3 separate regions of the Homo sapiens genome follow, and regions 2 and 3 are each linked to region 1. Evidence: promoter capture Hi-C in 16 types of primary human blood cells and fetal thymus (Javierre and others, 2016). All regions are on one chromosome and are shown on one strand. Each heading gives the region's core, a stretch centred on a gene start or on the middle of the fragment in contact. The rest is flanking DNA. Distances are from core to core; before and after follow the strand shown.

Region 1 (3,988 bases), core at 163-2,662:
GTGATTCTTTTGTTTGTTTGTTTGTTTGAGATAAGTCTCGCTCTGACGCCCAGGCTGGAATGCAATGGTTTGATCTCAGCTCACTGCAGCCTCTGCCTTCCGGGTCCAAGCGATTCTTGTGCCTCAGGCTCCTGAGTACTGGGACTATAGGCGCCCAACAACACAACTGGCTAATTTTTGAATTTTTAGTAGAGACGGGTTTCACCATATTGGCCAGGCTGGTTTCGAACTCCTGACCTCAAGTGATCCGCCCACCTCGGCCTCCCCAAGTCCTGGGACTACAGACCTGAGCCACTGCGCCTGGCCTAGACTGGTGTCATTCTGACATTTCCAGGCCACGAAGCAGTCCCAGACTCAGCAGCCCTGGGCATCTGCCGTAGCCCTGTTGTATGATCTGCTCTGCCACTCATGAGGCATGACTCACCCTCCTACCCTCTCCGAGCCTCAGTTTACTCATTTAAATCTCAAAGCCTCCACAGATAATTGGGAAATGAAAGGAAAATCGTGTAAGTATGAATACCTTCCACAGATAGCGGGATCTCATTAATACTAGTTTTCCCCTTTCCATACCTCCCAGCAAAGAAAAGTTGGTAACTGCAGGCCTCTGAACTAGTGCCCCACATCGGAGATACCGGCCACTTCTTACTGAACATTTGCCTGTGTCTACTATAAGGATATAAGATCATCTCAACCTCCCAAGAAGCCGATATTAGCACCCCCATTTTTGCAGCTAAAGAAACTTAGGTGCAGAAAAATGAAATAGCATATTCAAGGTCACAGAATGACCTGGGGCAGAGCTACAGTCTAGACCCCCATCTGTCTGATATAAACCCCATTCTATGAACCCTCAACATTGCTACTCCCCTTCCAACGCCACTGGAGCAGAAAGCTCCAAAACTGGGTGAAGCACATACAGCTCTATAGCAGGCAACCCCATTCCTGTGTTCCACCTAGTGAAGAACCAGGAGGTTGTGCATGACCAAGGTGGTTCAGGGTGAAGGTCAGGGGCTGGCTGAAAATGGAAGGCATCTCAGGCTGGGTCTTTGACTGTGATTATGTCAGGGTTGGGGCTGAAATATTGTGAGTGGTAACTGAGGTTTCAACCTCTTCCCTAGGAAAGAGTGGGGGTGGGGTGGTGAAGCTGGTTAATTGAGATGGGAGGGTTGGGGTGGGGGCAGGCAGAGCCTTCCAAGGCCTTCAGATCCGGTGCTGTTACCGTAAACAAGTGCAACCCTCAGCTCCCTGGAGGGCCTGGGGAGCAAATGCGTGCATCCCTGCTTCGTTCCCAGCAGCTGTTCACTGGAGGACGCAGCCTGCCATCCCCAGCCGACCTCCTCCACAGCCTTCCCCAGCCCCCAGATCAAGCCTCAGGAAGTGGCGCTGCTGAGAATCTCTCCTCCAGCCCTGCCTCCTGCCGAGAGTGTCTTCAGCGCCAGCATTTCCTGGCCTAATTAAGCTGGGTAATGAGTAGCTAAGAGGAGGGGATAAAAGCCCTAGGCGGCTTAGAGCTGGGACAGTTTATGACAGGGGCGTCTGCAGCTGGTGACATTCCTAGGAAAATTATTTCTCATAACCCTGGGAAGTTGCATGCTGTTTCCTTAGCAGCAGAGTAAGCCTCAAAGGTGAGCATGGGGAACACTGCATCTTAAGGGGGCCTGACTGGAGGGTCCTAAAGGTGACAGGTGGGGGGTGCCATGTGTCTGTAGGACTGATCAGAGCTGCAGAGCAGCTACAGGCCACCCGGGCTAATGCCCTTAGCTTAGTCCGAGGCCGGGGCATCCGTGGTGGCCACGTGACTCCCCAGGGCTTGGGTTTTGTGTTTCTTCTGAATGATAGGACTCTGCACAGCATGCAGTTTCTAAGACCGTATCCTTTCAGGGAAGGAAATCTGAGCTAGAGGCTCTGATCCTGACTCCTCCGCAGCCCACTATTAAGGGTGTGAAAATTGTGTTTTGGAAAATATCAGGTGCCCCAGCAGCCAGGAGTGGGTAGAAGAGCTCTCAGACAGGGGCCCTGGGGGAAAGGGGAAGGTGGGCACCAGGCGCTCTGGACACCAGGGCCCGCCCTTCCAGAGACACTCAGGAGCCCAGCGTTGATTATCCCCACTCCCACTCTGCAGCCACAGCCTCAGCCCCCAAATTCTCCTTCTTTGGCACTCAGTTTTGTTTGTTTGTTTTTTGTGTCAGTTCTGTTTGTTTTTGTTTTCTTCAGTCACCTTGCACTCCTTCCTTAGTTGGCCAGGGAACTTCGTGCTGTATGGGGTGGAGCAGGGCAAGGCCCAGGCTCTGGAGCTCGGCCCATCCCCACGTCTCTGAGTGAACTTGGGAGATCAGGTGACCTCTCAGCCATGGTTTTCCCATTTGTAGAATGAAGGCATTAGTGATGTCTAGTGTCCAGTATGTTATGAACCGCAACCTCCACTTGGCCTGTGAGTGGCGAGCGAGGCTGAAATTGGGCCATGTTTCCCAGACCTTTCAAATTAGGTTACCCAGTTTCACCCAAGAACATTTTTGCCCCAATTATCCTGTAAAGCAGAGTCATAGCTAGTGAGTATGTATTTTATTATTATTATTACTGTTATTATTAGAAACAGGGTCTCATTCTGTCATCCAGGCTGGAATGCCATGGTGTGAACATGGTTCGACCTCCCGGGCCCAAGCAATCCTCCCACCTCAGCCACCCGAATGGCTGGGACCACAGACACGTCACCACACCCAGCTAATTTTTGGTATTTTTTGTAGAGACTGGGTTTCACCATGCTGCCCAGGCTGGTCTCAAACTCTTGGGCCCAAGCGATCCTCCTGCCTTTGCCTCCCAAAGTGCTGGGATTACAAGCGTGAGTCACTTCGCCTGGCTGAATACCTGTTTTTGATGATGGAAGGGCCCATTCTCCTGCACTCTTGTAATCAATATTTGTTCTTTTCCAATTTTCTAAACAAGACCTGTCTGGTGCAATGTCCTCCGAGCCCCGCTTCCTCCACGGCTGGAGCCGGGAGCGGCAGGGAATGTGTGGGCATTCCGTCTTTCCTTCTGATCGCCGCCCTTCACCCTCTGCCCTTGGCTGTTCCCACAGTCCCATCTATTCCCCTGGCCTCCTGCTTGTCTCTCTAAACGAGGAGTGAGTATGCAGATCACAAATAACCTGGTGTTTCCGTTTTTCCCTCTGGCGGTGGTTGCCCCTGGAGTGGAAGGAGACCTGGTGGCCAGATGCCTGACATGGCCGGGACAGCTGGTGCTCTCAGCATTCCTGGGGAAGGTCCCTGGGGATTGGACTTGAGGGGATCACACCAAGAAGAGGGGTGAGCAGGCCTGGCAGCTCACCCCTGTGACCCAGCTCACCTCTGGCTGGGCTGCCTGGCATGATCCCCCGGCCCGGCCGGCAGCAGCTGCGCAGGCCAGGGGAGCCAAATGGCTCTGCATGTGTAATCCTAGCTAAAAAGAGAAAGGGGAAAGATCTTGTAATTTCCCAGGACACAGACAACTGAAACCTGACACTCTTGCCAAGGAAGTCCTTTCACTGAGAGAGAGAGAGAGACAGAGAAGGAGGGAGGGAGGGGAGTGTGTGAGAGCCCACTCTGGAAGGTTCCGGGAGAGACAGAGAGAAGGAGGGAGGGCGGGGAGTGTGTGAGAGGCCATTCTGGAAGGTTCCGGGGCCAGCAGGAAGCCCTGAGCACAGCTCTCCTGTGAGTACCCCATGTGTCATCTGCCCTAGTCTTTGGCCTGAGCCAGGAGATGTGGCTGGTCTGCCCAGTGGGCACAGCAGTGGCGGCAGAGGCCCGGCCGCCATCCGTCTCTGTTCATTGGGAGCCGCTGCCCCTTCCTTTCCCTGCCTTTTGTGTCAGGGAGCCAGATTGTGCTGTTGAGAAAAATGTGCTCGAAGCCCTTCAACTCGGCCAGTAAGAGCCATTCTTTCTTCCTGTCGCTCAGCGCTTTGTAAAACCAAATGTATGATCAGAGTGGAAGGAGTCCAGCCTGACTTGAACGGGTT
Region 2 (3,722 bases), core at 479-2,978, 260 kb before region 1:
GCCTCCCGAATTCAAGCAATTCTCCTGTCTCAGCCTCCCGAGTAGTTGGGACTACAGGTGCACGCCACCATGCCCGGCTAATTTTTTTTTTGTATTTTTAGTAGAGACGGGGTTTCACCATGTTGGCCAGGATGGTGTCAATCTCCTGACCTCGTGATCTGCCTGCCTCAGCCTCCCAAAGTGCTGGGATTACAGGCGTGAGCCACCGCGCCTGGCCTTATTTTTTTTTTCTTAATCCACTTTCCTCCTTTCAAGTTTCTTTAAATAAATAAAAGCTCTGAGTCCTCTCCTTGAAAGTATGCAGTCATGTGCCGGGCGCGGCACCACTGCACTCCAGCCTGGGCGACAGAGCGACACTCCGTCTCAAAACAACAACAACAGCAGCAACAACAAAAGTATGGGTAATGTAACATTACAGGAGTTTTGAAAAAAAAAAAAAATTCAGGGAACTCCAAGATGAGTGACCATCAGCACTGTTGAGATGCTAGAATATAAATACCAGCATACGACAGAGGAACTATTTACAGGTAGATCTTCACATCATTATGAAATTTCTTCTCAGTCATTCCCAACACAAATATTACTCATTATGTTAAAAGGACCTGCAGAATAAAATCCGCTTAGAATGTCACACAAAGCTTGTTTCTCTGAATAAACTGTTGTAATTTTTAAAAGTGTCTGATTAGTACATAATTGATTATTTCTCTTTTTTTGTAGTTGGAAGCTACTAAAAAGTCTGGAAAAGGTTATTGTAAGTATCTTATGGCTTACAAAAATTCCTTCCATAAGAACTATCATGGGAGGCAGAGCGAGACTTTGTCTCAAACAAAGAAAACTATCATTTGTGACTTTAAATGTGTGTCAGAGACTGTCCTGTTTTCATTTAATCCTTCCTTTTTTTTTTTTTTTGAGACGGAATCTTGCTCTGTCGCCCAGGCTGGAGTGCGGTGGGGCGATCTCGGCTCACTGGAAGCTCCGCCTCCCGGGTTCACGCCATTCTCCCGCCTCAGCCTCCCGAGTAGCTGGGACTACAGGCATGTGCCACCACGCCTGGCTAATTTTTTGTATTTTTAGTAGAGACGGGGTTTCACCGTGTTAGTCACGATGGTCTTGATCTCCTGACCTCGTGATTCGCCCACTTCGGCCTTCCAAAGTGCTGGGATTACAACCGTGAGCCACGGCGCCCAGCCCATTTAACCCTTCTAACAAGGTCTGCACAGCCCATCCCAATGCGACCCTGGGCTACCTGGTAGGACTCAATTCATGCCCAGCCAGCCTTCCTGTGCTTGCTCTGCTCTGCTCCGCTCCAGCCGCGCCGGGACTTCCAGCCAGCCTTCCTGTGCTTGCTTTGCTCCCCTCCGCTGCAGCCTCGCCCTGGACTTCCTGCTGCATATCCCTGCCTCCGTGCCTCTGCTCTTGTCTGCACTGCGCCTTCCGCTTCAGGCACTCACGGGTCAACCTCATTCACTTTATTTAAATGTCAAATCTTCAGAGAGGGCTTTCTTTTTTGTCTGAGACAGGGTTTTGCTCTATCACCCAGGCTGTGTTCAGCAGGGGAAATCAGCGCTCACTGCAGCCTCGATCTCCTGCGCTCAAGGGGTCCTCCTGCCACAGCCTCCCAAGTAGCTGGGACCACAGATGGAGCCACCACGCCCAGCCATGTCACTCTTTACCTGTAAACCTGCCTAATTTTACTTCAGATCACTCACCACTATTATCCCACAATATTTGTCTACTCTCCACCTTCTCACCACTGGAATGAAAATAGTACTTCTGGCTGGGTGTGTGCTCACGCTTGTATTCCCAGCACTTTGGGAGGCTGAGGCAGATGGATCACTTGAGGCCAGGAGTTCAAGACCAGCCTGGCCAACACGGCAAAACCCCATCTCTACTAAAAATACAAAAATTAGCCGGGTGTGGTAGTGTACACCTGTAATCACAGCTACTTGGGAGGCTGAGGCATGGTAATCACTTGAACCTGAGAAGTGGAGGTTGCAGTGAGACCAGATCATGCCACTGCACTCTAGCCTGGGCAAAAGAGTGAGACTCTGTCTCAAAAATAACAAAAAAGAAAAGAAAAGAAAAAAAAAGCCATACTTCTCTGCTGTGCTATCAAATGCCAGATCATATTCATTCATAATAACTATTTTTTTTGTACCCATTAACCATCCTACCTCTCCCCAACCCTCCACTATCGTTCCCAGCCTCTGGTAACCATCCTTTTCCCCTCTATCTCCACGGGTTCAATTATTTTGATTTTTAGATCCCACAAGTAAGTGAGAATATCCAATGTTTGTCTTTCTGTGCCTGTCTTATTTCATTTAAAATAATAACCTCCAGTTCTATCCATGTTGTTGCAAACGACTGCATCTTTCTGTTTTTATGGCTGAATAGTACTCCCTTGTGTATCAGTACCACATTTTCTTTATCCATTCATTTGCTGACGGACACTTAGGTTGCTTCCAAATCTTGGCTATTGTGAACAGAGCTGCAAAAAATATGGGAGTGTAGTTATCTCTTCAATATATTGATTTCCTTTCTTTTGGGTGTATACCCAGCAGTGGGATTAATAGATTTTATGGTAGCTCTCTTTTTAGTTTTCTAAGGAACATCTAAGCTGTTCTCCATAGCGGGGGACTAATTTATGTTCCTACCAACAGTATATGAGGATTTCCTCTTCTCATTCTCACCAGTATTTGTTATTGCCTGTCCTTTGGGTATAAACCATTTTAACTGTGTAAGATGATATCTCATAATAGTTTTGGATTTCCATTTCTCTGATGATCAATGATACTGAGCACTTTTTTCATAAGCTTGTTTGCTTTTTTTTTTTTTTTTTGAGACAGAATCTTGCTGTATTGCCCAGGCTGGAATGAAGTCTTGGCTTGATCTCTGCTCACTGCCACCTCTGTCTCCCAGGTTCAAGCAATTCTCCTGCCTCAGCCTCCTGAGTAGCTGGGATTACAGGCGTGTGCCACCATGCCTAGCTAATTTTAGTATTTTTAGTAGAGGCAGGGTTTTGCCATGTTGGCCAGGTTGGTCTTGAACTCCTGATCTCAAGTCATCTGCCCGCCTCGGCCTCCCAAAGTGCTGGGATTACAAGCATGAGCCACCACACCTGGCTTGTTTTTTAATTTATTTTTATTTTTTTGAGACAGGGTCTCGCTCTATTGCCCAGGATGGAGTGCAGTGGCATGATCTCAGCTCACTGGAGCCTGGACCTCCCAGGCTCAAGCTATCTGCCCATCTCAGCTTCCCAAGTAGCTGGCACTACAGGTATGAACAACCATGCTCGGTTAATTTTTGTATTTTTTGTAGAGATGGGGTTTTACCGTGTTGCCGAGGCTGGTCTTGAACTCCTGTGCTAAAACAATCTGCCAGCCTTGGCCTCCCAAAGTGCTGAGCTTACAAGCATGACTCAACATGCCTGGCCTCGTCTGCATTTGTATGACTTCTTTTGAGAAATCTCTATTCAAATATTTTGCCCATTTTAATATCCGATTATTAGACTTTTTCCTAAGAGTTATTTCAGCTCCTTCTACATTCTGGTTATTCATCCTTTGTCAACTGGGCAGTTTGCAAATGTTTTCTCCCATTCTGTGGGTTGTCTCTTCACTTTGCTGGTTGTTTCCTTTGCTGTGCAGAAGCTTTTTAACTTGATGTGATCCCATTTGTCCATTTTTGCTTTGGGTGCCTGTGCTTGAAATCAATGTCCTAGAGGG
Region 3 (3,528 bases), core at 1,029-3,528, 310 kb before region 1:
ACCAGCTCATTCTCTCCCTTCACTCTCCAGCAGCCCAAACACACACCAGCCCTCAGCCATGTGTGCACATATTTATATGCATGCAGGCAGGTATACTGAGGCACATTTGAAATCTTCTTCCTGCCATCTCTCCCAAAAAACACACAGTGAAGGATCCAACCCCACCCCACCTGGCCATACCCATCTTCCATGAGCAGCCGCCGGAAAAAGTCGTTGGCCGCCAGCTTGATGGCCTTCTCTGGAGTGACCAGAGTGAGGTTCACTGCAGCCCCTGGAAGTGAAGGACAAGATGGGGAGTCAAGGCCATCCCAGAAATAACAGTGCCCCAGGTCTGCCCTTCAGCCCTAGCCAGGCCAGTCCCTGAGTGAAGGGCATTTTTGGGGCCAGGTGGGGCTCCTGAGCCTAATTCACTGAAATAACTTTCCATTCCCACTCCCTACCACATTCTCCTTTTTTTTTAGATGGAGTCTCGCTCTGTCGCCCAGGCTGGAGTGCAGTGGCGCGATCTCGGCGCACTGAAAGCTCCGCCTCCCGGGTTCGCGCCATTCTCCTGCCTCGGCCTCCCTAGTAGCTGGGACTACAGGCGCCCGCCACCACGCCCGGCTAAATTTTTTTTGTATTTTTTAGTAGAGACGGGGTTTCACCGTGTTAGCCAGGATGGTCTCGATCTCCTGACCTCGTGATCCGCCCGCCTCGGCCTCCCAAAGTGCTGGGATTACAGGCGTGAGCCACCGCGCCCGGCCCCACATTCTCCCCTTTTTACGTATTTTTTTCTTACGGACTCCTCAGTTTGGTTATCAGGAAGCCATTTTATTTTTGTTGCTGCTGGTGGGGTCGCTGATGATAAAACAGCAGTTCCAGTGACAGGCGCCAGGCGCAGGGACTGGGGTTCCGCTCCTCTGTGCCGCACAAGCCAGTCCCATTGGCTGCTAGCTCGGGGCTGTCTAGGGTTTGTGTTTTGCTTCTCGGCGGCACAAGCATACGAGCTCCGGCTCAACTCCAGCTTGGGATCCATTGTCCAAGGTACCTCCTGGCTGGGGACCCCGCAGGGACCGCAGCAACGCTGGACCGAGCTGGGGAGGAGCCACCCAGAACTCCTTGCCAGGAGCTCAGGCCCCGTCCCTCAGTCCCTTTCAGCCTCTCTCTCTTCGCTTCTAGCCAGGCAGAGAGAGGCAGGCAGGTAGGGAGGGCTCGCCTGCTCTTACTGAGGCGGTGGCGGGGGGTGTGCTCTGTGGGTCTCCGGAAGCCTTACCAGGACCCAGAGCTGCCTCTGTCTCCACCCAAGAGCACAGAGGCTCATCAGGAAGGACCCCCTGGCAGCCCTGGCCCCATCCCCGCAGCAACGGAAGGAACACCAGTTCCCCATGTCCCATACGCTCACACCTGCTGCCCAGCCTCCCAGGGGACCTGAGAAGCCCACCTCGGTACATGCCGAAGAAGCCCTCCGCCCGAGCCGTCTTCATCAGGCAGTCGATCCTGGAAGCAGAGGCCAGAGTAGGAGTAAGTGTGCAGCGGGCCTCCCAGCCGCCTCCATGCCCTGCTCCCGCGGGCACATCCCAGCTGATCAGATCCCCAGCCCCCAGGCTCACGCGCGCTGCCTGGAGACTGGAGGGAAGGGGGCCCCATCCCTCCCCCGGGCGCCTCTGCCCTCCACGCTCGCCTGCCAGCACCTACATTCCTTTGTACATGGCTTTCCCATGCTGGTTCTGCAGGCGAGTCTTGGCCAAGTCGATGGGGAACACGCAGGTCACCCCCACGAGCCCTGCTACACCTCCATTGATGAGTTTGGCTGTGATGCTAGGACAGGGGGAGGACAGGGGGAGGAGAGAGGCAGAGGGAGGGGCAGGTTAGGGAGCGGATGCAGCCAGGAATGGGCAGGGGCACAGACAGTGGGGAACCCCAGCCCCACAGGTGTCCAGAGACCCTCTTCAGCCTCCCTGGCCCAGGTCTGGTCCAGACAGGACAGCCGCACTCACCCGGGTGAGGCATCTTGCTGCAACCCGGGAAGTCCCTGGAGCTGGGACCTGCAGGGGCTTCTGGGAGGAGCCCAGCTCTGCCCCCATGGGCCGCCACCAGGGCACCGCTCTGCCCCAAGCTTCCCCGGCCCGTCCTCTGGCTCCTCCGCAGGCCTGGAGCCACGTGTGCAGTTCTCACACAAACGGACTGAAGGTCAGGCAGAACTGAGTTTGCATCCTGACTGTGACCTCTCCTCTCTGGGCCTGCATTCCCGTCGAACTCACTCCAGGGTTGCTGAGGACTATGGAAACCGTGCCTGGGGGGGAATGCCAGCTATTGTTCATAATAAGAGAGCAGGCACTTCCCACAGTGAAGGCTTCAAGTCGGTCAGCCCTTGAGGTGACCTAGTTCCAGCCAAAAGTAAAGCCACAGTTTAGATAACATGGCCCCCCACCCTGCTGGGTATAGGAGCTTTGGAAGACGGGAAATAGAAAACAAAGCTTTCTCAGACTCCTTGGAACCCACTCAACTTTTCTTATCTTTCAGGCGGGAGGCAGACTGTGAACAAAATATTTGGAGATGGATTTACCTGGAAGTGGTAAGAGTAGATGATAGTGGGCCTTTCACAAAGGAAGAAACTTGGGACGATAAAGAGAACTGTAAACTTAATTTTGTAGTTAGAGAAGATGAACCCAAACAATTAAACTATGTTGAACAATAACATATATGTGCACAGATGCTTGTGTGTACGTATTTGCCACAGTAGATGTAGTGTATATGTTATATGGGGGACAGGGGTCTTGCTCTTCCCTAGGACTCAGCTTGTTCTTCAGAAACCTGGATGTGCTATCACCACAGCGACTCTCCGCCAGGCCCAGGGCCCAGGGCCTCAGGCTGCCCCAGCCGAGCTCACCTCAGATCCTGGTGGGTCATTCTGCAGGGGCTGGGGATCCCAGGACACAAGGCTGCTGGCTCCTTGGGGTAGCCGCTGTTGGGGCTGTCTGGGGGAAGAAGTGGAAGCTTCCTTGGCTCTGGCCCCGTAGCAGTGTGGACAGAGCACGGGTTTTGAGTGCAGCCTGGCCCGAGCCACCTTCCCGGCAAGTGACGACCTCCTTGGGCTGCGGCTTCCTCCCCTGCAAAGTAGTCAGAGAAACACTCACCTCACAGATGGGCGAGGACGCACGTCACTAGTGGATTCATGCGGCCCGCTTGCTCCACTTTTTTCCCTTCCTAAACCTTTTGGACTTTGGGATTCAAATCAGAATCCTCGAACTTTTGGACTCTGGGGATCAGATAAGAAGGAAGGGGAATGAGAGAGAAGGATACAGCAGCCTGCTGAGGCTGGAGGAAAGGATGTCTGGGGCATTTTGGACAGAGGCATGGGAGTGGCACTGGAGGAAGCAGAAGGGATGGAAAGGATTTTAAGAGGAGTTGCTATGAACTAGGAATCCCTCTCTTGGTGTCCAAGGACTACAATAAAATACTTAAGATGGCCGGGCGTGGTGGCTCATGCCTGTAATCCTAACACTTTGGGAGGCCGAGGCGGGCGGATTGCCTGAGCTCAGGAGTTCG

What was found. Contacts are between HindIII fragments. The CHiCAGO score rates a contact against its expected background, and 5 or more counts as called.
Region 2: a fragment that was not itself captured here is called in contact with the fragment with the promoter of CECR3 in region 1 in 12 of 17 cell types (endothelial precursors, M2 macrophages, M0 macrophages and 9 more); the score reaches 9.7 in endothelial precursors.
Region 3: a fragment that was not itself captured here is called in contact with the fragment with the promoter of CECR3 in region 1 in 1 of 17 cell types (erythroblasts); the score reaches 5.5 in erythroblasts.

Annotation. Positions count from the first base shown.
Region 1 is chr22:17,264,157-17,268,144 of GRCh38, reverse strand. It overlaps CECR3 (cat eye syndrome chromosome region, candidate 3), which reads left to right and starts at 1,412. Exons shown (of 3, transcript NR_038398.2): 1 at 1,412-1,622. RefSeq lists enhancers at 2,963-3,789, 3,790-3,988. The HindIII fragment of the contact is 21,393 bases long and covers 1-3,988 here.
Region 2 is chr22:17,526,887-17,530,608 of GRCh38, reverse strand. The region is part of intron 9 of CECR2 (CECR2 histone acetyl-lysine reader); the gene reads right to left. Among named protein-coding and RNA genes, the nearest start is that of SLC25A18, 35 kb to the left of the region's middle. The HindIII fragment of the contact is 2,175 bases long and covers 641-2,815 here.
Region 3 is chr22:17,579,306-17,582,833 of GRCh38, reverse strand. SLC25A18 (solute carrier family 25 member 18) reads right to left here. Exons shown (of 11, transcript NM_031481.3): 3 at 2,870-3,089; 4 at 1,675-1,797; 5 at 1,421-1,476; 6 at 181-271. The coding sequence starts at 2,889. It overlaps LOC101929372 (a long non-coding RNA gene), which reads left to right. Exons shown (of 4, transcript NR_171783.1): 3 at 1,286-1,500; 4 at 2,503-2,679. Among named protein-coding and RNA genes, the nearest start is that of SLC25A18, 18 kb to the right of the region's middle. The HindIII fragment of the contact is 361 bases long and covers 2,098-2,458 here.